Linked DNA regions of Homo sapiens: regions 1, 3, 4 and 5 are each linked to region 2. Evidence: promoter capture Hi-C in 16 types of primary human blood cells and fetal thymus (Javierre and others, 2016). All regions are on one chromosome and are shown on one strand. The core of a region is centred on a gene start or on the middle of the fragment in contact, and the rest is flanking DNA. Distances in the headings are between cores, read along the strand shown.

Evidence for each region. Contacts are between HindIII fragments. The CHiCAGO score rates a contact against its expected background, and 5 or more counts as called.
Region 1: a fragment that was not itself captured here is called in contact with the fragment with the promoter of GDF7 in region 2 in 1 of 17 cell types (neutrophils); the score reaches 6.7 in neutrophils.
Region 3: a fragment that was not itself captured here is called in contact with the fragment with the promoter of GDF7 in region 2 in 2 of 17 cell types (neutrophils and monocytes); the score reaches 8.5 in neutrophils.
Region 4: a contact is called between a fragment that was not itself captured here and the fragment with the promoter of GDF7 in region 2, in 11 of 17 cell types (neutrophils, naive B cells, monocytes and 8 more). The highest score is 9.9, in neutrophils.
Region 5: a fragment that was not itself captured here is called in contact with the fragment with the promoter of GDF7 in region 2 in 17 of 17 cell types (naive B cells, naive CD4 T cells, total B cells and 14 more); the score reaches 18.1 in naive B cells.

Annotation. Positions count from the first base shown.
Region 1 is chr2:20,385,354-20,389,496 of GRCh38, reverse strand. It overlaps the pseudogene SLC7A15P. Among named protein-coding and RNA genes, the nearest start is that of PUM2, 37 kb to the right of the region's middle. The HindIII fragment of the contact is 8,101 bases long and covers 1-4,143 here.
Region 2 is chr2:20,665,484-20,669,716 of GRCh38, reverse strand. GDF7 (growth differentiation factor 7) reads right to left here and starts at 2,573. Exons shown (of 2, transcript NM_182828.4): 1 at 2,087-2,573. The coding sequence starts at 2,477. RefSeq lists enhancers at 1,894-2,013, 3,000-3,830 and silencers at 2,494-2,643, 2,684-2,733, 2,804-2,913. The HindIII fragment of the contact is 16,143 bases long and covers 1-4,233 here.
Region 3 is chr2:20,368,798-20,373,396 of GRCh38, reverse strand. No RefSeq gene overlaps it. Among named protein-coding and RNA genes, the nearest start is that of PUM2, 20 kb to the right of the region's middle. The HindIII fragment of the contact is 2,315 bases long and covers 1,540-3,854 here.
Region 4 is chr2:20,402,424-20,407,061 of GRCh38, reverse strand. It overlaps LOC105373465 (a long non-coding RNA gene), which reads left to right. Exons shown (of 5, transcript XR_001739317.2): 5 at 1,514-3,871. Among named protein-coding and RNA genes, the nearest start is that of RHOB, 42 kb to the left of the region's middle. The HindIII fragment of the contact is 1,273 bases long and covers 2,300-3,572 here.
Region 5 is chr2:20,947,108-20,951,450 of GRCh38, reverse strand. No RefSeq gene overlaps it. Among named protein-coding and RNA genes, the nearest start is that of LINC02850, 89 kb to the right of the region's middle. The HindIII fragment of the contact is 2,814 bases long and covers 1,246-4,059 here.

The DNA of each region.
Region 1 (4,143 bases), core at 323-2,822, 280 kb after region 2:
CGCCTGTAATCCCAGCACTTTGGGAGGCTGAGGTGAGTGGATCATTTGAGGTCAGGAGTTTGAGACCAGTCTGGCCAACATGGTGAAACCCCATCTTTACTAAAAATACAAAATTTAGCCAGGGGTGGTGGCAAGCATCTACTAAAAATACAAAAAGGATCCGGACGTGGTGGCAGGTGACTGTAGTCCCAGCTACTCAAGAGGTTGAGGTTGGAGGATTGCTTGAACCCAGGAGGCAGAGGCTGCAGTGAGCTGAGATCGCACCACTGCACTCCAGCCTGGGTGACAGAGCAAGACTGTGTCTCAAAAAAACAAAACAAAACAAATAATAAAATAAAAATAAATGCTAATCCCCCAGGTGACTTCTGACTAGCCCCACGTCTGGGAATGCCTCCATCATCTAGTTGATGTTTTATTCTTTGTGTGGGAACACCTATTCACTGTAAGTGTCACCTTCCCTGAAAACAACCTTTGCTGTTGGTCCATATAGCATAGGCTGTGACACCCATAGCAATGTACACGTGCCTTCCAAAGCACATATACTTTTTCCCCAACATATAAGCCCCGGGTCTGGGTTGGGGGTGCAGTACAGAGATCTACCTGTCTTGCAGCCACCCAAGACCCTGCTTCTGTCTGTAAGTTCCCTGACCTTCTATTGACAAACTGAATTTGTCTGTCTCATTCTTTGGTTTCTCAGCTCTTTTGGCGTTTGGGGGCCACTTTGGATATACAGCCCTTTGACAGAACACTCACAAAGCCAAAAACATTAACTCTCTGGATCCTTTATCGCAAAGGTTTGCCAGTCCCTGCTCTAAGCATGGGGTCTTGTCTGCCTCATTTTTGGACCCCCTATTCTTTCCCAAGTCCAGCTCTGAGCCCAGCGTGTGGGTTCAGAGAGAGAGGGCTCTCGCCCTGTGAACTGAAGGAGCCAGTGCCCCTGCCTGTAGTTCCCAGTTACCCCCAGAACCAACCTGACCACAGGGAACCATTCACCTAAGAGGTGCACCTGTAGACCTGTTTAAGGCACTCAGAGGCCTAGCCGTCCAAAGGTGATTGTCATTGAAATCCCAAAGCCTTGTGAGGTAGGCAGGGCAGCTATTACAATCCCATTTTATAGGCAAAGAACTGACGCTCAAGGAATTACATGCAAAAATTAAAACCAGGTCCCAGAACTCCTGGCTCTCTCCCTGGCTCTCTCTCTGCACATGGACTTATCTCCAAGCTGCTCATCTTCTCTCAACATCTCCCAAACCCCACTCCAAGTAGCCTTTGCCAAGACTGCGAGAGCTGTAATGGCCCTTAAGCCAGCCCAGAGGACAGAGAGGAAAAGACACGAAGTTTTCACTTTGTGAGAATTTAAAACTTCCACAGGGAAAAAAATAAAACAAATAATATCCCAGGCAAATATATTTAAAATAGGAAAGAGTTAATATCTGCAGTAACCAAAGATCCAAATGCTTCACCTGAATCCCAAGCTGTCCTGAAGACCGTCCCCACCAGGGCAGGGACTAGTCAGCCCAGGTCCCACAAGTGGGGTGAGCCAGGTAGGATTGGGTCTTCCCCTGTCCAAAGTGTGCTATGTCCCATAGTAGCCCCCAGGCTCTGACAACTGTGAATTAACTACCTGCTGCAGTGTTCTGGAGAGGATGATCCAGGAGATAGACATAGAGCTGAGGCATTGAGCATGGTCTCTTACAGGCAGTGTGACCGCAAAATCATTTTCCCTTTCCAAACCTGTTTCCCCTGTGAAAAATGAGCTCATAATGCCCACCTCGCAGAGCAGAAAATGGAGACCGTGGGTATATTACTAGAAAGTTCTCTGCTTATTTGCAAAGTGATTATTTCTATAATTACATAAACTAATTGGGATGGTCAGTGGACTAGCATGCAAGTGCCAGCATGCAGGAGGGGAGCCCTTATTTCCAGCTGGATTGCTCATAGTCTTAATCACCCCAAATCTGGATGATTGCAGCTCCAATTATTGGAGTTGCTGAAGTTCAGAGATTTTACCCCCAGAAGTGACTTTATGGGCTCATATGTGGATTCTGGATCTCCTCCATCACATAGTTGATGCTATTCCAGCCACCGAAGGACCACAGGCAGGCCGAGTGTGGTGGCTCATGCCTGTAATCCCAGCATTTGGGGAGGTTGAGGTGGGCAGATCATTTGAGGTCAGGAGTTTGAGACCAGCCTGGCCAACATGATGAAACCCTGTCTGTACTAAAAACACAAAAATTACCTGGGTATGGTGGTCTGAGCCTGTAATCCCAGCTACTCGGGAGGCTGAGGCAGGAGAATCGATTGAACCCGAGAGGCGGAGGTTGCAGTGAGGCTAGATTGTGCCACTGCACTCCAGCCTGGGCAACAGAGCGAGACTCCATCTCAAAAGGAAAAAAAAAAAGAAAAAAAAGACCACAGGCCCTGGTAGAAGGCTAGAAGGCCATGCCAATGTGCCCCGCCTGCAGCATCATGTGGTGGAAGGCAGACAGAAGGGCTTCCGTGCATATGTGGCCCTGGCCCAACACCACCCCCGCTCCAAGGATGACCAGCAATGAGAATACTTTGGTAGCCATGCACACATTTGTCAGCATGGTGGCCAGCTTCAAGCTCCAGCAGTTAGCCACCATCAGCAGGAGGATGCTGGTGACAGCCACATTCTTGAGCACAGCAGGGGGCAGTGAGGCACAGCCAGGGTAAAAGGGAACCATTGCATGCTCAGCAAAGCTCAGAGAAACAGAAGCAATGGTAGCTAGTCTGGCCACCAGCAAATATGTGAAGATGACCAGGAAGGCTGGCAAGGAGCCAAAGTTTCATAAGATGTAGGTATACTTGCCCCAGATTCAGGAACAAGGCACCCAGCTCAGCATAGCACAGGGTGCCCAGCATGGCCAGGAGGCCACAGCCCACCCATAAGACTGGCCCCAGGATTGCCCATGTGGACCAAGACCCCCTGTGGTGACATGAAGATGCCAGAGCCAATCATACAGCCAGCAATCAGGGACTCTGTTCTCCACAGACTAATCTCCCTTCGCAGCCTCAGCCCAGGCACCCCATCGTTGGTCCCTTGCCCTACCACCCCTCACAGCCATCTCTTTCCTTACCTCTCTCCATCTCAGGACTTCAACAGACACTGCCTCTTGTTGAGCAAAACAGGGGCTTTGATGTCTGTCTGTCTTGTGGGCTTCTTGCAGGAGTTAATGATTACGGCACCAGAGGGAGTATGAGCCAGCAGCCAAAAATCCAGGGCATAGTGTATTAAAAACAAAAACAAAAAGAAAAAAAACCTGAGGCCTCACTGATCTAGCCAGCACCCATCAACTCAGACCCTGGAACAGGGAGTTTGCAGGAGCTGTTTGCCAACACAGCCCAGGAAAGATCAAGGAAAGAGAGGTTTTAATAGAAAACCGTGTTGCACTGGGCATGGGAACTCACAACTGTAATCCCAGAATTTTGGGAGGCCAAGGCAGGAGGATCACTTGAGGCCAGAAGTTCAACACCAGCCTGGGCAATATAGCTAGACCTGGGCAACATAGCTAGACATACTGTCGATGGCTGCATTCTTGCACAGTTGAGTCACTGTGACAGGGACTGTGTGCACTGCAAAGCCTAAAATATTGACTAGCTGGTATTTTCAGAAAAAGCTACTGACCCTTGGCATTGGGCACAGACAGGAAGAATTGGGGCAGGAGAAAGAACAGAGAAGATGCCATACATCGACTGAGGCTGGCAGGCTGGCTTTGAGCACAGGTAAGGCATTTCCTGAGAAGAAATATTTCAGATGACTTTGCAGGGGCCTGGAGATCACGTATGATCAAGGTGGTAAGAGCAGGAAGCGTGAGTTTTTGATGTCAACATAACTTCATTCATCTCCATGGGAGAATGGGACATAAGGATTTTCATATTATTCTCATAAACATCTTTATAGGAGAATCATCAGCCCCATTTTACAGCTGTCCTGGTTTATAGATGGCTCATACTTACAGACTTGTATTGGTCTCTACCAAAAAAAAAATTTAAAAAATTATACCAGTGTGATGACGCATGCCTGTAGTCCTAGTTACTCAGCAGGCTAAGGTGGGAGAATCGAGGATAGCTTGAGCCCAGGAGGTCGAGGCTGCAATGAGCCACAATCACACCATTGCC
Region 2 (4,233 bases), core at 1,324-3,823:
CGCGATCGCAACCCCAAATGCACCTCCTCCCGGTGCTCTCGCGGCCTCCGAAGGAGGGGGAAAGGCAGTAAAGGAACACAAGGAACCTCCCGGAGGGGTGCGGGGCATCCCGGAATGACCTTGCTGCAGTGAGGGCAGCGTCCCAAACGAGGTCTCGCTTCCAGGAGCCGCCTGTCTGTCCCTTCGCGGGCTCATTCTTCCCTCTGTAGTGACTTATCTCGGGCTTAGGGGTTTTATTTCCAGTGTGGACACTCTTTTTTCTTTTTCCTTTTTGGGCTCAGAAAAAAAAAAAGTTTAAAATTCCACCACGCAGCAGATAAGGAGCTCCCTTTGAAGGGGGTCATATGGTTTCGTTTTGCCCCTAAACTCGGAGAGACTATGCAGAATCCCCCCACCACTGGGGATTTGCTCACCAGCCACGAAGGTCAGGCCCTCATGCCTGAGGTCCCGGTTCTATCCCTATCAATGGCTTCTGGGGACCTCAAGCAGCCCTGTTCCAAGTTGAGACTCAGGGTGGAGAGGGAGGCCGGAGAGGCACACTGGGGCTGCACGAGGAGCACTTTCTCTGAGATTCCCTGCAGATCCTCTGCCTCTCCCTGCTCACCAGCCCTGCCACTCTGTTTCCCCCAAGAGGGAGGAGGGAGAGGAGGCCTCTCAGGCTCAGCCAGCCAAGCTGAGCTCCCCAGAAAGGATTTATCTCCTGTCTGAGACCATGGTAGAACTAGCTCAACCTTAAGAAGACTCTGGTGCCTGTGCCCACTTAGAGCCCAGCACACCCCCCTTCTCCTGCAGCCTGGGACCCTTCAGTCCCTGTCCCTGTGCACCAGAACTAGGGCGTCCTATAAGTATCCCAGCATCCAGCCCAGGGGCCATGTCAGGCCGTCAGAGAAGGCTTGATAGTTCTAACCGAACCACAGGGCCATTTGGGGATTGGGTACCAAGATTTCCAGGTACCAAAAATAAGGCAGTCTGTGCTAGGCACTGGGCATGTGCTGGCAGGGATGGATGACCTGGTCACTTGCAAGGCCTCTGCCTGCCTTCCCAGGCTAGGACCTGAGGTATGCTGACTGTCAGTGGCTCCCAAGCAGGGCTGCCTCAGCCCCACCCGCTCACTTCCCAGCCCTATTCGCCTTTCTTTCCCTCCTGCCCTCCATGCTGGGTCTCTGGCTGGATAGAATTAAGGCCGAAATTACTTGCATTTCCGCCTGAAATTAGGTAAATTTTCTCTATCTGTCTGCTTTAATGATTTCAATGGAGATTAATAAAATCCAGATGACATACAGCAGCCACACCACAGCCTCACCTACATCTTACCTTTGGAAGGCCCAGGGCAGAACAAGGTGGGGTGCTTAGTCTAAGAGAGGCCTGCATTCCTGCAGGGTCCCCAGCAGGCCTCTCCTCCCCACACCACCAGGATCCTTGACCTCTGGCTCTCCCAGGGGCCCAGCACCAGACACAGGCACCCATAGCTGCACATGTCACACACACACAAACCACCACCACCCAGACCAACCTGCTGAGCAGGGCACTCCTCATACCTGGTTATGCCACCAGCCTCTCCAGGGCCATTTACTTTAGTCTGATACCTGCCTCTGCCCTAGTTTTCCCTGGGCTTCCCCCAATTTGTGTGGCCCGCAGGAGACTGGGAGCTGCAGAAATTGCTGCAAGGAAGGAGCCATCACCCTCACCACCGTGCAGTCCCTCTCGCCGTGACTCCCGGGAACACAGCTCTTGCCCTCCTTTCTTCTCTGAGGGCTCCGAGGCCACTCCAGACCATTCCCCAAGAAGCGAATCTTGGCCTCCGCCTGCCTCCTCGAGGGGACCAGCCGGCCTGCAAGGCCAGGGAGACCTGGGAGAGGGACCAGTCAGCCCTCTGGGACTGGGCCCCGGGAGCTGCCGCGACTCTCGCCACAGTCCAGGTGCAGCGGGCTGGAGAGTGTTGGCCTCGGCGAAGTTTCTTTCTATCACCTGAGGGTGGGCCGCATGGGGCCGCGGCTCCAAATGTAACGGAGCTGCGGCACGGCTCCGGGGCTGGTCTCAGCCCAGGACCTGACGGGATGGGCGGGCACAGAAGAGGCGTAAGTACCTTGGGTCGCCTGGTCTGTGAAGCCGGTGATCGTGTCCGCGCGACCATGGCCCGAGGCGGAGACAGCGGCTGCCCCGGCCGGAGCCCTCCCGGCCAGGCTCCGGTAAAGCGACATCATGAAGTGGTGCGGCACCACCGAGCCGTTCCTGAAGCCGGAGCCCGCGGCGCGGCGCGCGGCGCGGGCCCGGGGAACCGCGGCGGCCGGGACAGCCGCGGCGCCCGCAGCCTGGGCAAGAGTCCGCCCGCCGCCGCCGCCGCCGCCGCCGCCCCCTGGGCTCCGGACCGGCCCAGCCCCCGCCGCTCGCAGCACGGCGGCCGCTTCCAGCCCGTCGCGGGGGCGGCAGGCGCTCAGCAGCCAAAGGCACAGCGCGGCGGCGGCGCTCAGGTCCATGGGCTCCGTGGGCCGGGCGGGCGGGCGGCGCGGGCTCCGTGGCTCCGGGAAGTCCCCCGGCGCCTTTTGAACATAGTGTTTAATAATGGGGGAAGTGTGCGCGGCCAGCCCGCGGCCCCCCCTCCTGGCCCACCCCACCCCCGCCCAACGCCCGGAGCAGCGCCCCCTGCTGAAAGCTCCGGCGGCCGCTATGCGCCCCCCACCCCGGCCTAGAGTGGAGACCAGGGCCGGAGCCGCCTCCTCCCACCGCAGCGCTACGCCCCCACCCTCGCCAAGCGACTGCCACTGGCCCCAGCCTCCCGACACGCCTCCCCGCGGCAGTGCGACACCCCCTCCATCCGCCCAAGACCAACGCGCCCTCCGTGGTTCCAGGCTCGGGGCACCGCGCGCACCCGCCCAGCTTCCTCCCCACTCCCCCGCAGAGAAACACCCGCCCCCTCCCTGCCCTGGTTCCCAATGCCGGGAACGGGGCGGCAGAGTTGGGGCCGCGGAAGGGCTCGCCCTCCAGACCGCTTCGCGCCGCGGCCGGGTGGCCGCGCAGAGAGAGGCCACAGGATGCTCCCGGCGGCCTCAAAGTCGCGTTCCGGATCGCGGGTCGGCGGTTCCCCACTCAGCCACAGACCCCAAAGGATTGCAGCGGGCGGCCAGAGCAGGGGAGGGGGCCGGTAGGGGAGGAAGGGAGGGCGAGGAGCTGAAAGGGCAGGCCTGTAAGAGACCTTTGGACGCGGACCGCCCGTCGTAAAAGCAAGGTTTGGGCGCGGAAGTTGCGCTTCAGCGGGAGCCAAGCTCTAGAAAGAGCTCGAAATGAGGACGGCAGCCCCGGGTGATGGGGGATCTCGCGCGGGAGTGCGCTAAGAGTTTGGCTGTGCGTCCAACTGGCGACCTTCCACCCGCCTTCTGGGCGAGGGCAGCGGCTAACGAAAACCAGCTACCGGCTGTGTGCGTGAGCGGCCAGGAGCCGGGAGAGCGGACGGCGCAGAGCCCCGGGATGGCGCCTCCGAGCTTCTTACCCCGCCGCGGTGATGGCGCGGGTCCCGAGGTGGATGGAGGGGACGCCCGGCAGCGGCGAAGCCCTGGGGCGCACTCGCGCGGGCCGCAGAGCAGTTTGCTCCGCGGCTGGGACAGGTTGCGGAGGCCAAGTCTCAGGGGAACGCGCAGGAGAGGGGGGTTATCGGCTCTGCTCCGCCGGCAGCCTGGACATCCCCCTAGATCGGAAACTTTCAGCTGATCGAAGGCCTGGGCCAAACGAACTGCCGAAGAAGGGCAGGCGGGTCCTTTTCCTTTAAAATTGCATTTTCTGCAGAACTCAAAATCTAGACTGGGTCGGCACGTCGTGATCACCTTGAGCGGGTGATCAGCTTCAAAGCGAGGTCGCCCGCCGAATCCAAAGCCGCCTAGGTCCCGACGCCTGCCTGGCTGCGCTGCGCTGGGACCCACAGAGAGGCCCGGCCCAGGCTCCCCAGTTCCCCTGCTCCACTGCTTCGTCCCAAACGAACTCCTCAGCCATTGCCCTCTCGGCCACCGCGGAGACGCGGCGCCTGCTCACCTTGGGGCATTGAGCCGCATAACACTCGAGAATGTTTGCGGGTGGGAGAGAGAGGCCTAGTGAGGTTCAGTCCTCGCAGACCCCAAGGCCGATCTATGCCAAGGAGAAAGGCCTGACATTACCGGGAAGGGCGGACCCCTGGACCAGGGTCAGCGCTGCCGGCGCTGAGGGACTTCTCCTAGCAGGAGCCTGGGGAATCTGGGATGATCG
Region 3 (4,599 bases), core at 1,448-3,947, 300 kb after region 2:
CCACCACTCCTGGATAATTTTTGTTTTGTTTTGTTTTGTTTTGTTTTGTTTTTGTAGAGATGGAGTCTCCCTATGCAACCCAAGCTGGTTTCTAACTTCTGGGCTCAAGTGATCCTCCCACTTCAGCCTCCCCAGTTGCTGGGATTATAGGTATACGCCACTGCCTGGCCCATCTCATTTGTTTTATGCACATGCACACTTGGAAATTTTCTGGAAGGATACAGAAGAAAGTGTTAACGGTTGTTCCTTTGAAAAAAATGAGATTGAGAAGTAAGTGCATCTTTCTGTGGCTGCTGGCATTTCTCCTAGCAAGCATAGTAAAGGAGGCATGTGCCTTTTCTGTGGCTACAGAACAGAAATTTCAGTGACTGCCCCTAGTTTTGTGAATGCAAAGAGATAGAGTATTGGGTATGACATTTTTTCGTAGGAATTGCAGTTGAGGTGGTATATCCTCAAGCCAGCAGCTGGGATAATGACTTTCTTGGCAGGCCAGTTCTGTGGAGTTGTTACAGGGGAGCCATTCCTGGAAGCTCAGCCTTAAGTCTGTTCACCTAGCCCTTGCAACAATTTTGTAATCACCTAACTTTCTGTATGAAGTCTATTTCTACTTAATTTTTTTTTTTTTTTTTGAGACGAAGTTTCACTCTGTCGCCCAGGCTGAAGTGCAGTGGCACAGTCTTGGCTCACTGCAACCTCTGCCTCCTGGGTTCAGGTGATTCTCCTCCCTCAGCCTTCCGAGTAGCTGGGACTACAGGCATGCACCACCATACCCAGCTAATTTTTGTATTTTTAGTAGAGACAGGGTTTCACTATGTTGGCCAGGCTGGTCTCGAACTCCTGACCTCAAGCCATCCTCCCATCTCGGCCTCCCAAAGTGCTGGGATTACAGGCGTGAGCCACCACACCAGCCTATTTCTACTTAACTTGTCTGGAGTTGTCTCCATTGTATGTAACCATACCTTGAACTTACACAAGGAATGGGGGAAAGAGGGGAGACTTATGAATCTCAGAGGAAATCTTCATAGGATGTTGCTAACAGCCTCCTTTGTTTAATTTTCCCCCCATGGATGAGTACTATGCCCGAACCAGATCCTGGTCTCTGTATAGCAATGTTCATCTTTCCTTGTACTGGTTCCTTCTCCACCTCTTTAGCAAGATATCTATGTTTGTGTGTTAGTCAGGACTGTTTGGTTGCAAGTAACAGAAACTGTTAACTCAATCTATTTTAAGACAGATAGATAGATAAACAGTAATATGGTTTGGATGTTTGTCCCCTCCAAATCTCATGTTGAAATGTGACCTCCAATCTTGGAGGTGGGGTATAGTGGAAGGCCCATTGGATCATGGGGGTGAATCTTTCACCAACGGTTTGCTGCCTTCCCCATGGTAATGAGTGAGTTCTTATTATGAGTGAGTCTGTTAGCTCACTTGAGAGCTGGTTGTTTAAAGGAGTCTGGCTCCTCGTCCTCACTCTCTCTTGCTCCCTTTCGCCATATGACATGCCTGTTTCCTCTCCACCTTCTGCCATGACTGTAAGCTTCTTGGGGCCCTTGCCAGAAGCAGATGCCAGCACCACACTTCCTGTACAGCCTGAAGAACATGAGCCAATTAAACCTCTTTTCTTTATAAATTCCTCAGATTCAAGCATTTCTTTATAGAGATGCAAAAACTGGCCTGACACAGACAGCCAGATAGATATTGTATTGGATCACAACCAAACAGCAAGGAGGTTGGGGTAAACCCTTCTTTTCCTTCCTCTCTCCCTCTCTCTTTCTCTCCCAGTCCGCAACTAGCTTTCTCTTTTGGTCTCTCTTTTATGCAAATTTGTGTATGTTAGCGTTCCTCTCTTAGGCTGGCTCTCTCCCACAAAAGTATAATGATGACTACTGGGAGCTCTTGGCTCAGATCATTACAGTTTGTAAGACAGAGAAGAGGGGCTTTCCTCTCCCAACTTCAGTTTGAAAAAAATCCTGTGGAATTATTCCACTTGAATTAACTTGGTTTATGTGCTTGTCTTTTGGATAAATCCTTATGTCATGAGGGTGGCTTAGCTTGATTCAAGCAGGGTCTGTTACTGAAAAAGGCTAAATGATGCTTAAAAAAGTAAATGACCACTACAATGTGTCCCTCGACTGCTCAATGTATACATGACTCTATTTTTATATACAGTGAGTCCTCACTTAAAGTTGTTAATAAGTTCTTGGAAACTGTGACTTTAAGCAAAAAGTATGATTATAGCAATGCAGGAATGGCTAATTTTTTTAAAAAAGTATAATGAAACCAATCTTCTTTTCTCATCAATATTATAACAAAAAGGCATTGAAGGAAACTACATTATTCTGGGACTCACTGTACAACAATTCACTTAAAGTCCCAGTTTCCAAGAGCCCATCGAAGATGTTAAATTAGAACTTCTTGCAATTTTTTTTTTTTTTTTTGAGACAGAGTCTTGCTCTGTCACCCAGGCTGGAGTGCAGTGGTGTGATCTCGGCTCTGCAACCTCCTCCTCCCAGGTTTAAACAATTCTCGTGCCTCAGCCTCCTGAGTAGCTGGGCTTACAGGTGCACACCACCACACCCAGCTACTTTTTGTATTTTTAGTGGAGATGGGGTTTCACCATGTTGGCTAGGCTGGTCTCAAACTCCTGACCTCAAGTGATCCCCCACCTCAGCCTCCCAAAGTGCTAGGATTACAGGCGTGAGATGTTTAAACTGGTTTTCTGGAAAAAAAAAAAAAAAAGAAAAGAAAAGAAAAAAAAAGTCCTGGTTTATAGCATTTGCCAATTTCTGTTATATAATTACTCCCAGCATGGCTAATTTCAAGCTACCAGCAGCTTAACAACTGGCTTGCAAAATTCCTGGAAATTTAACATTTGGCTCTCAAGCTCTCGTTCCACTGTCCCATCCCATACTAGCCCAGGGTTTGGTCTTACGTCAATTCATGTGGCAATAGCACATTTGAAACAAGCAGAGACTTGAAAAGCACTTGCACATAGGAGCTTACCCTCTCGCTGCACCTGGAACTCTGTTATCAACCATGAGAATGAGCCGGATGACTGAGCTGAACAGTGAGAGACACATGACCCAGTTGTTAGGGAAGCAGGAGCCTGGGAGAGCCACAGTAACCATCATTTTAAGTTCAAACTCCATCTTGAAACTTGAAAGGCACATTCCTTGCCAGCCACAACTCGTCATCCTAAGATGTTTATAGTTGAGGAAAACCTACAAGGACATACTCCTACAATAGCAGAAAGTTCAGAAGTCCCAATTCCCATAACAATATATGCTTTCAAGATAATAATAGTTTTGTTTTGATGTACTCACATACTAAAATGTCAAGAATAGTTTTCTTTAAATGAATAGAATAATAAATGTCACGCTCTCTGCTCACCAGCACATAGGCATAGCTGAGTTTAGTTTTTGCATAGACAGGACCCCTATATAAGAAAAACTTGTCCCTGTCTCAAAAAAAAAGTCCAAACAGTTAGAAGGTGTAATCTGATAACCCACAATCATTGTATCAGTAATCTATTGCCACAATAATGCTGTATAACAAGTCATCTCAAACTCAGTACCTTGAAACAACAATCACACTTGCACGCCCAGAGGTAGTTGGAGTTCAGCAGCTCTGCCCTTGCCTTGACCGCTTTACATTGCAGGTTTTCAGTTAACTGGGGCAGCTCTGCTCCACGGTCTCTCATTCTGAGACCAACAAGCTAACCCCCCCGATATGTTCCTCACAGAGCAAAAGCACGAGAGGACACACAGGAACTCACAACTTGTCCTGAGACGAGGTCACTGTATTAACTATGTTTTCCTATTTTCTGTATCTTGATGCTCTGGCATTTGGAAGCTTTCCAGACGCATGGAAAGTGCCCTTCTCCGGGTTGGCTAATTCTTAAAGATGGGAAATAACTGACTCAGACACCTCCTCTCACATGCAAGCCAACCACCCGCCTTTATCGAACTCTCCTATACCAGCCCCAAAGATAAAGGGAAAAACTATTTCTGGGAGGAAAAAGATCAGACAGTATGAATATTCATACCAGAAAAGCACATCAGGGTCATTACACCCAAGACCGGTCGAACAAATCCTTTTCACCCATTAATCAAGATTTTGTTAAGAAAAAAACAACAGTGATTTTTTACTGTCCACTCAACTGGATTCCAGAGAGAAAGAGACTGGGATTTTGTCTCATAAGAATTTTTTACCCTTCTGCTGACTTGTCAGGTCCTGGTTTCCCTTGACTGCAGCTTCCAGAAGAGCAGAGTTTTGGTATCCTGTTCACAGCACCAAAACTATAGAGGCCAAGGAAAAACTTCTTCACTCTCTGAACATTTGTTGAAAAATCAACTGACAAAAGGCAGATTAATAGGAGAAAAGGCATACAAGTATACTAACGTGTGCAGGAGAGAACCACAAAGTGATTACTTCACCCCTTAATAGGGTAGAGAAACTTTTTTTTTTTTTGAGGCAGGATCTGGTTCTGTCATCTAGGTTAGAATGCAGTGATGCGATCTCAGCTCACTGCAAACTCTGCCTCCTGGGCTTAAGCCATCCTCCTACTTCAGTCTCCCAAGTAACTGAGACTACAGGTAC
Region 4 (4,638 bases), core at 1,687-4,186, 260 kb after region 2:
TGGACGCTTGAATTTAGGAGTTTAAGTACAGCCTGGGCAATATGGCAAGACCTTGTCTCCAAAAAAAGAAAAAGAAAAAGGAAGGAAGGAGGGAAGGAAGGAAGGAAAGAAGGGAAAAGAAAAGAAGAGAAAAAAGAAAAGCCGAGCAATTGTTGGGTTTGTGGGCTAATGCCAAGGTCAGAAAACAGTTTCACTGATGTCAGTGCCTCTCCATGTTCCCAATGAGAGTCACTCTGAAATTTCAAAGGAAGAATGGAAAGCTATCCTTGATATTTTAAAGATGACTGCTACTTACTTCACTGCACTTGCTAGAAGCAACACTCTAGGTCAAGCACGGTGGCTCATGCCTGTAATCCCAACACTTTGGGAGGCCGACGGGGGGGGCGGATCACTTGAGGCCATGAGTTCGAGACCAGCCTGGCCAACATGGCGAAACCCCGTCTCTACTAAAAATACAAAAATTAGCCAGGTGTGGTGGCATGTGCCTGTAATCCCAGCTACTAGGGAGGCTGAGGCAGAGGATCACTTGATCCCGGGAGGCGGGGGTTGCAGCGAGCTGAGATCATGCCACTGCACTCCAGCCTGGGAGACAGAGCAAGACTCTGTCTCAAAAAAAAAAAAAAAAAAAAAAAAAGAAAGAAAGAAAGAAAGAAAGAAACGAAACAACACTCTAACTTTTCCCATTAATAAAATGATCACTACCAAATATAGAAAACCTGTCTAAGTAATGCCTGAAAAAGAATACTGTGCTTCCAGGCATCATGCACAGAAGACCTGGGAATTACCTATGTGGGCACAGGTATTGTTTGTATCATGTAACCAGATTAAAGTCAGTAGGATCCTTTTTTACTAAAGGTGGTTATACACCCTTATAGCATGTTATTAAAGGACTACAAAAAGTAAAATGTTCACAGGAACTTGTGTAGGAGGTATGCGGATTCATGGGTGAACAAACTCAACCGACCCTTGCTCCCGCACAACTAAGTGGCCCTCTTTTCCAATCGCTGGGGGCGTATACTGGGTCTGTGCGGTATGGTCATTCTGTTCTGCCTCCTCACTGGTTTGGATCTTGCTTTTTGGCTGGCTCCCTTCTGCCTTTCAAATAGCTTCCTCTGAATGTTCCTGTAGTAGCTTCTATGATCAAAGGCCAAAATGGTCGATAATCAAAATTAGCAACTTTGAAACTGATGAAGATAAGCTAGTTTCCACTGAGGAAAGAGTCCAGTGGGATTCCTGGGGGGCCACTTTCAGCAGTAGTGAGGTACCAGAAGAATGGAATTTAAAGCTAATCCATAAATTAAGAAAAATCTTGGATTTTGCAGCGAATCAGACTTCCTAGGGTTTCAAACAAGTAGAAGTCACTCTGAAAATAAATAACATATGCGTTCAACAAAACCACTCAATGGAACATCACGTAGCTTAAGTTCCCTTTTTATTTAAGTTGGGGGCTTTTGTTTGCTATTGAGCAAAACTGAATGTTTTACCTATTTCTCCCTTGATTTTTTTATTACAGAAAGCTATATTTAAAAGGGGGCTGATACTGCTGTTTTCTAAGATACTGCCACCAGATACGTTAAGGAAATCTCTCAAGAGAAAGGAACAGATGACATGTCTATGGGAGCAACTGACAGTTGGTTTGTAAGCATCCCGAATGGTGAATGGCAAGCTTGGCTTTTTCCAAGGTTTTCTAAAGTATAAATTTCTTCCCTTAGGTCTCCAGGTTATTATGACTTGTGTTACCAGGTAACAACAAAAATGGCCTTTTAAAATCAGGCCATTTTACAGCAAACTATAGTTCTTAATCATCACCAAATCCTGCACCAAGGACTATGCCCAACTAGAGTCAAATATTGTTAAACTGCCTATATTGTCTGAACTTTGACCTGTTTGATTTGGTTAGGTTCGTTGAGTTCATTTCTTAGAACTTGTTGAGGAGTACACTTTGGACTTGTTTGTTTGTTTGCTTGTTTGTTTTAAGAGGTAGTGTCTGTGTATGCTGCCCAGGCTGGATTCAAACTCCTGGGCTTAAAAGATCCTCCTGCCTCAGCCTCTCAAGTAACTGGGACTACAGGCTCATACCACGGCAACCAGCTGGTCTTTTCCTATTATTTTCTTGATCGTCATAATAGTCCCTTGATATGGTTTGGCTCTGTGTTCCCACCCAAATCTCACCTTGAGTTGTTATAATCCCCACATGTTGTGAGAGGAACCTGGCGGAAGGTAATTGAATCATAGGGGCAGGTTTTTCCCATGCTATTCCATTGATAGTGAACAAGTCTCATGTTCTCCCTCACAAGCTTTCTTGCCTACCACCATGTAAGATGTCCCTTTGCTCTTCCTTCATCTTCCTACATGTTTGTGAGGCCTCCCCAGCCATGTGGAGCTGTGAGTCCCTTAAACTTCTTTCCTTTATAAATTACCCAGTCTTGGGTATGTCCTTTTAGCAGTGTGAGAACAGACTAATATATCCCCTGGGGCACGGCATCATCTCAAGTCTTAAATGTTTTCTTTTTTTTTTTTTTTTTTTTGAGATGGAGTCTCACTCAGTCACCCAGGCTAGAGTGCAATGGCGCGATCTTGGCTCACTGCAACCTCCACCTTCCAGGTTCAAGCAATTCTCCTGCCTCAGCCTCTCGAGTAGCTGGGATTACAGGCGTGTACCACCACACCTGGCTAATTTTTGTATTTTTAGTAGAGACGGGGTTTCACCATGTTGCCCAGGCTGGTCTTGAACTTCTGACTTCAAATAATCCACCCGCCTCAGCCTCCCAAAGTGCTGGGATTATAGGCGTGAGCCACTGCACCCAGCCACTCAAGTTCTTATGTATGAACTGCAAACTAACTTAGTATTAAACAAACTGAAAACCTAATTTAGGGGTGAGCTTCTGTAACAATAGCTAAGTCTCAACCAATCACAACAGCCATGCATTAGTCAATCACAGGCGGCCAGCTGTTCAGACCATGTTCAAATAAGGCGAATACTGTGCTGTAACCAATGCAGCTGTTTCTCTACCTCACTTCTATTTTCTGTCCTTTGCTTTTCTTCTTCTGCCATAAATTTATCTGCCCATACAGCAGCCCTGAAGTCTCTCTGAATCTGTTCCGATTCTCAGGACTGCCAGATTCATGAATCATTTTTTTTTCTTTTTCTTGCTCAGTTAAACTCTGTTAAATCTAATTTGTCTAAAGTTTTTCTTTTAACCCTGCCAAGTAGCTCTTTCCATCTGGTTCTTGTCTCATGATGTAAGTGTTTCTCTGCCTTTTCATCTCTGAAACAGAGTCACCTGGCATTGGTAATATTCTGTTCTGATCACCTCTAATGGGAAACTAGCTGTAAAGATGCTGTTTACTATTACAGTCAGAAATTCACATCGTTTACTGTTTTGCTTTTGTGTTATGTTTTAAAGATAACATCGTATGGCCTTCTTTCTGAAGGGCCTGAAGAAGCCTTTGGACCAAAGCAATAAAATTCTGACCTTCAAAAAAGATTATATCACATAATTTTCTACCTTTAAAAATTGTATAACATTTTTTATTCTAAAATAAAAAGCATAGGTACACAAACCTAAGCTTTATTCCCAAAAAAGATGTTTTCTAAGGGAATATATTCAGGTTACAAAATGCTATTTTTAGGGAGCTAAATGATAAGAACTTATGGACACAGAGAAGGAAACAACAGATACTGGGGCTTACTCAAGGCGGGAGGGTGGCAGGAGGGAGAGGAGCAGAACAGGTAACTATCAGGTACTGAGCTTGATACCTGGATGATGTAATAATATGTACACCAAAGCCCCGTGACAGGTGTCTGTCTATGTAACAAACCCTCAAATGTACCCCTAAACCTAAAATAAAAATGTTGTTTTAAATGCTATTTTTTTCTTCAATGTATTTAGCTATTTTAGTGATTCCCAAATGATTTATACTCGATTGCTCATTACATGATAGATTGTGGGGTCAGTGAAAAAAAAAATTAAGTTAGAAGCTCTTATTTTCTTTGTTTTGTGTGTGTGTGTTTTTGTTGTTGTTTGTTTTGTTTTGAGATAGAGTCTGGCTCTGTTACCCGGGCTGGAGTGCAGTAGCATGATCACAGCTCCCTACAACCTCCGCCTCCTGGGTTCAAGTGATTCTCCTGCCTCAGCCTCCCAAGCAGCTGGGACTACAGGTGCCACCACGCCCGGCTAGTTTTTGTATTTTTTTGTAGAGATGCAGTTTCACCATGTTAGCCAGGCTAGTCTAGAACTCCTGGCCTCAAGTGATTCACCCACCTCAGCCTCCCAAAGTGCTAGGATTACAGGCGTAAACCACCGCACCCGATCTGGAAGATTCATTTCACAAAAATTTTAACTTAGAGTTTACGTAATTTAAAAAAATAATTGAAGAGCATCTCTATTCTATAGGCAAATCAACAGTTAATAGAGCCCTCAGTATGTGTCACAATAACTATAGCTTAGATACACCTCACTATATCTAAAACATGTATTTAATTTATAGGAAAAAAAATCATGAAAAATGAATTCAGGAGGAAGACCATAACTTAAAACAAGGTGAACAGTGATGATTCAGGGAAGAAAGAGGATGTCTGTGGTCTGTTCATCCCTTTCCTCTATACCAAGATGGCCCCTTCAGCTTTGCTTATAA
Region 5 (4,343 bases), core at 1,403-3,902, 280 kb before region 2:
AGAGGGAGAAGGCCAGCCGATGCCAGTGACATTTTGTAGATTTCTTGTAGCATGTTTGGTCCATTCTTTTCCTATTAAGCATTCAAATCCTCTTCATATTCTCTAAAGCAGGATTCTGTCATCTGCTCACCCACTGAGGCTCAGTAATCCAAGACACATGCCTGGAGCCACACTAGGTTGGATGTCCCCAGGGCCTGGTTCCACCACATCATACACTACACACAGACACGCACCAGGCATGCCTCATGCAGAGGCACCAAGCATGCGAGCTAGGAGCTCCCAAGCCTCCATCCCTCAGCCTCAGCCCAGAAGTCTTGAGCTCTCTCTGCAGGGCTGGCTCACCGTGACCTCAGCACAAAATGCCTTGTTCTTACAAGAGCTCTCTGATGTTAGCATGGCAGGTATCACCCCATTTTTCTGGATAGAAAAACTGAGGCATAAGCCGAAGAAGCAGCTGGCCCAAAGATACAGAATCCCATTTAATAGAGAGTTAAAGGTCAGGGCAGAAGCAAAGACAAATTTCCTCCCTACCTGTAGAGGAAAGAGGCCCTTCCTAGCACAAAGGGTCGCCCAGCAGCCTGGACCTTACCTCAGCTCTAACGCCCAGTTCACGGCCTGACTGCTGCTCACCACTACCTTCCTTGCTCTCTGTATTAGTCTGTTCCCATACTGACATTTTGCTCTTCTCCCCTTGATTCAACTCAACTGAGAGAGCAGGAGTAACTCTTAATCACATGCATTAGTGGGAGAGTCAAGCATGGATAATACAGAACAGCAGGTAACCCCAAAAATGCTTCCAAGTGGCCCTGGGATATAACCTATGAGTCATTAATTATACAAAGGAATTAGAATTGCCTATGTAAATTGTGACCACACGATGGATGGAAGGAAGCAGGGCTGCCATAATCCTTAACTCCAAAGATACCTTTCAGCCCATAGATTATAAAATCAATGGTACTCCCTGGAGTTGTGCAGTGCACAGCCTGTGCAACTGTATATAGAGACCTTGGTGGAGACCAGTCAAGGCTATCTGAGCAGAAAAGGAAGGTAACAAGGAAGAAAGAATGACCAGAGGTCACACAGAATTGATCACAGCACTTGGAAAAGAAAATATAAAGATTTCACACATAAAATTTAAATGTACTAAACATTTTAAATACAACATTTAATACACACAGCTCGTGAACCCCTGTAATAAGGCATTATCCCATTCGTGCAGACTCACAATAATTTACATAAAAAGCTTCAGAGAGCAACCAAAGAACTCAGTGTTAAATTATGCTTAGGGAAAAAAAAAGGTTAGGGATTGTTTTCTTATTCAGGGACAGGTGGGTGGGAAGAGAAGGGGCCTGCTAGTAGACAGGTGAGAAGCCACCCACCAAGCTGCTCATCACCTGTTCTTCAGCCTATTGAGTACCCAGGGCTGAGGGGAAAGAGGCACACTGTCCACTCTGCTCCCCTGAAGTTGTGTTGCTTTATAACATGTGAAAGAAACTTAGAGTAACAAGTACCTGACACAGGAAGACTTTGGTCTCTAAATGATCCCACATTTGCAGCCCGTTGTAGATTTTAGTTGGAAGAGAGGAGGCATGTCACCCCTTTCCTTTTAGAGGCCGCGGGTCGCAGCATGGACTTGGTTTTCTGGTCGTCACAGCAAAGCCGGCATCCACAGCAGGAGTCTGAAGTCGGCCAGGCCCAGGCCATACAGCAGGGCTTTCCAGGGCATGGGACAGGGCCCATCAACCTCAGAGCTGGGCATGTTGTCCCCTGAGCTTTCTGGTTCAACTGGAACCAAGCTGGGTTTAGACTCCAGTGAGACCGGAAAACAAACCCTGGACCTGTTGCCAGGAGACCTAGGCTTTAGTACGGCTAGCACCCCGACTCACCGAGTGGGTTCAGAGAGTCCCTTCCCTTTCTGGACCCCCGAGGGAGGCTACTCGAGCTTTGCATTTCCTCCTTCCCGACCACAGCCGCCCGCCAAAGTGCCCAGGTAACTCTAGAAGCTGCACCAGGACATAAAACTGCACGTCACCAACCAGCACTGACCCAAGCAAAGACACGTGGCTCTGTGTTCCCATGTCTTTCCTTCTTTTGCCACTTCCCAAGCCCCCCTCCCCTAGGATCAGTCCAGGTTTCCCGTATCATGCCATGCCAGGAAGGAACTCACAAGAATTTAAACATGAAAAATGGAGCCAGGCACTTACCTGAAGAAAACACAGGAAAATATATTCTATAATCTAGCAGTGAGAAAGGTGTTTTTAAGCATGACGCAAAACCTCAATATCTTCACATCTGGTGAAACTTGATCAGTTTCACAGATTTCCATTTAAAGGAGAACACCACCAAAAAACAAAGGAGAGCACCATCAAAAAAACAAATGAACAGATAAACGAAAAGCTGGAAACATAGTTAGAATTTATATCACAGGTGAAAGATTAATTCCCTTGATACTAAAAAGCCCATCAGGGTATGAGGGGTCTAATAAATAGCATCCCCTTTTTCTGCCAAAATTCCCTACCAATGAGGCAGTAGGCAAGTCAGAACCCAAAACTCAGCTTTATTACTGGTGGATCCGCCTGAGAATGTGATTTAGGTGTGTAAAGAACAGGTTCTCTCATACTGGATCCCAGGATGAAGCAGATCCGCTCACCAGGACACAAGCAGCTCTAGATGCCTGCAGGCCAGAGCATAAGCTGAGGGCCACCAAGAGCACAGATTCTCCGCAGGCATGTCCCAAAGGGCAGGGAGGGAGAGGGAAGGGCCGAGGTAGGCATACACGCTTCCTCCTCTCAAACTTGCAATCAGATCATTTACCTCTCCTCCTCACAGTTGGAGTGAGGGAAGGGAAGGGGACCAGAGGAGGACAAGACTTACATTCACTGATGCCCTTTCATTAAGAAATATAAAACATCAAGAAGGGGAATTCTCCTCTCTCTTTCAGTAAGTTCCAACAAGTCAGTAGGAAAATGAGCAACAATACATTAGAAAAATGGTAGGAGGATATGAACAGACAGTACATGGAAAAGGAAATTCAGATACACACAAAAATATTCATAAAGAATACAAAACCTCCTTTATTATATGAAAATCTAAACTAAAACCACAGTGAACTATCATTATGTACCCATCAGATTGGCAAAAGTTAAAAAGCCCTGTCACCACACTGCGTTGGCACAGGTGTGGGGAAATTAGCATTTTCATGCATTGCTGAGAGGATGGCTCAAGTTTTACAGAGGATGGTTGGTCAATAGGTGTCAAAATAGATGTCAAAATCCCAAAGGCAATAACTTTGACCCAGCAAATCCACATCAAGGTGTTTATCCTAAATATACGTGGTATGTGATAATCATTGCACCATTGTTCTTACAAAGGCAAAAGACTGGAATCAACCCAAATGTACACCCATAGAGAACTAATTCAATAAATTAAAATATATCAATACAGTGAAATATTATAGAACTGTGATTATATTTAGGCAGCAGTTCTGTATGTCCTAACATGGAATAAACTGTAAGTTGTGTAACATGAAACACAGACAGAATTTTTGTATAGAATGCTATCATTTGTTTAAAAAATAGAATATATATGCTTGGATATGCATAGAGGCCTTCTAGAAGTTTATATGAAAAACTGGTAATACAGGTTGCCTTTGGAGAAATAAGCCAGGGGAATGGGGGTGAGAGGGAGACTTGCTTTTCACTTTGTATGCTTTTATGTCCTTTGAATTTTATGCCATGTACATTCATTATCAGAAATAAGTAAATGGACTATGTTAGATGCTGGTTTCATCACGTAGTAGTGAGAATCCTGAGGGTAGAATTAAAACTCATCCCAGGCAAGCCCAAGATCATCTCCAACTCCCTCCCTCAGCCTAGTTAGATTAAATCTGGCTGCCAGGCCCCCAAATTGAATGAGAACATCTTTGCTCTCACTAGACCTGGCTTGCCCCAGCTGGGCGAGGGAAGTGGGAGAATGGTCCTGCAGGACCAGGAAACCAGGGTGTTTGCCTCAGGATACTGTGTCTTCCTGGCGGCACAACAATCAAGCCAAAGTGAAGCTTCCAAAGGACAGCCAGTTTCCTCTCCTGAAGCCAGTCCAGGCTGGGCCAAAGGAGCCATAAGTGCAGAGGGAAGATGAGCAAAGTTTGGCCACAGTGTGAGTGGCCTTTGAGTTTTAGAAGGTTCTAGAAAGTGTTCCAGCAACTCAAGACCAGCTGTGATTATAGGCCCACCCAACCCCTCCATCCCACCACCCCACATCTATTCTGCCCACACTTCTTCCTTTCACAGTTCACCCGTAAACAACATGGGTTTGAACTGCATGATTTTTTTCAACAAATGCAC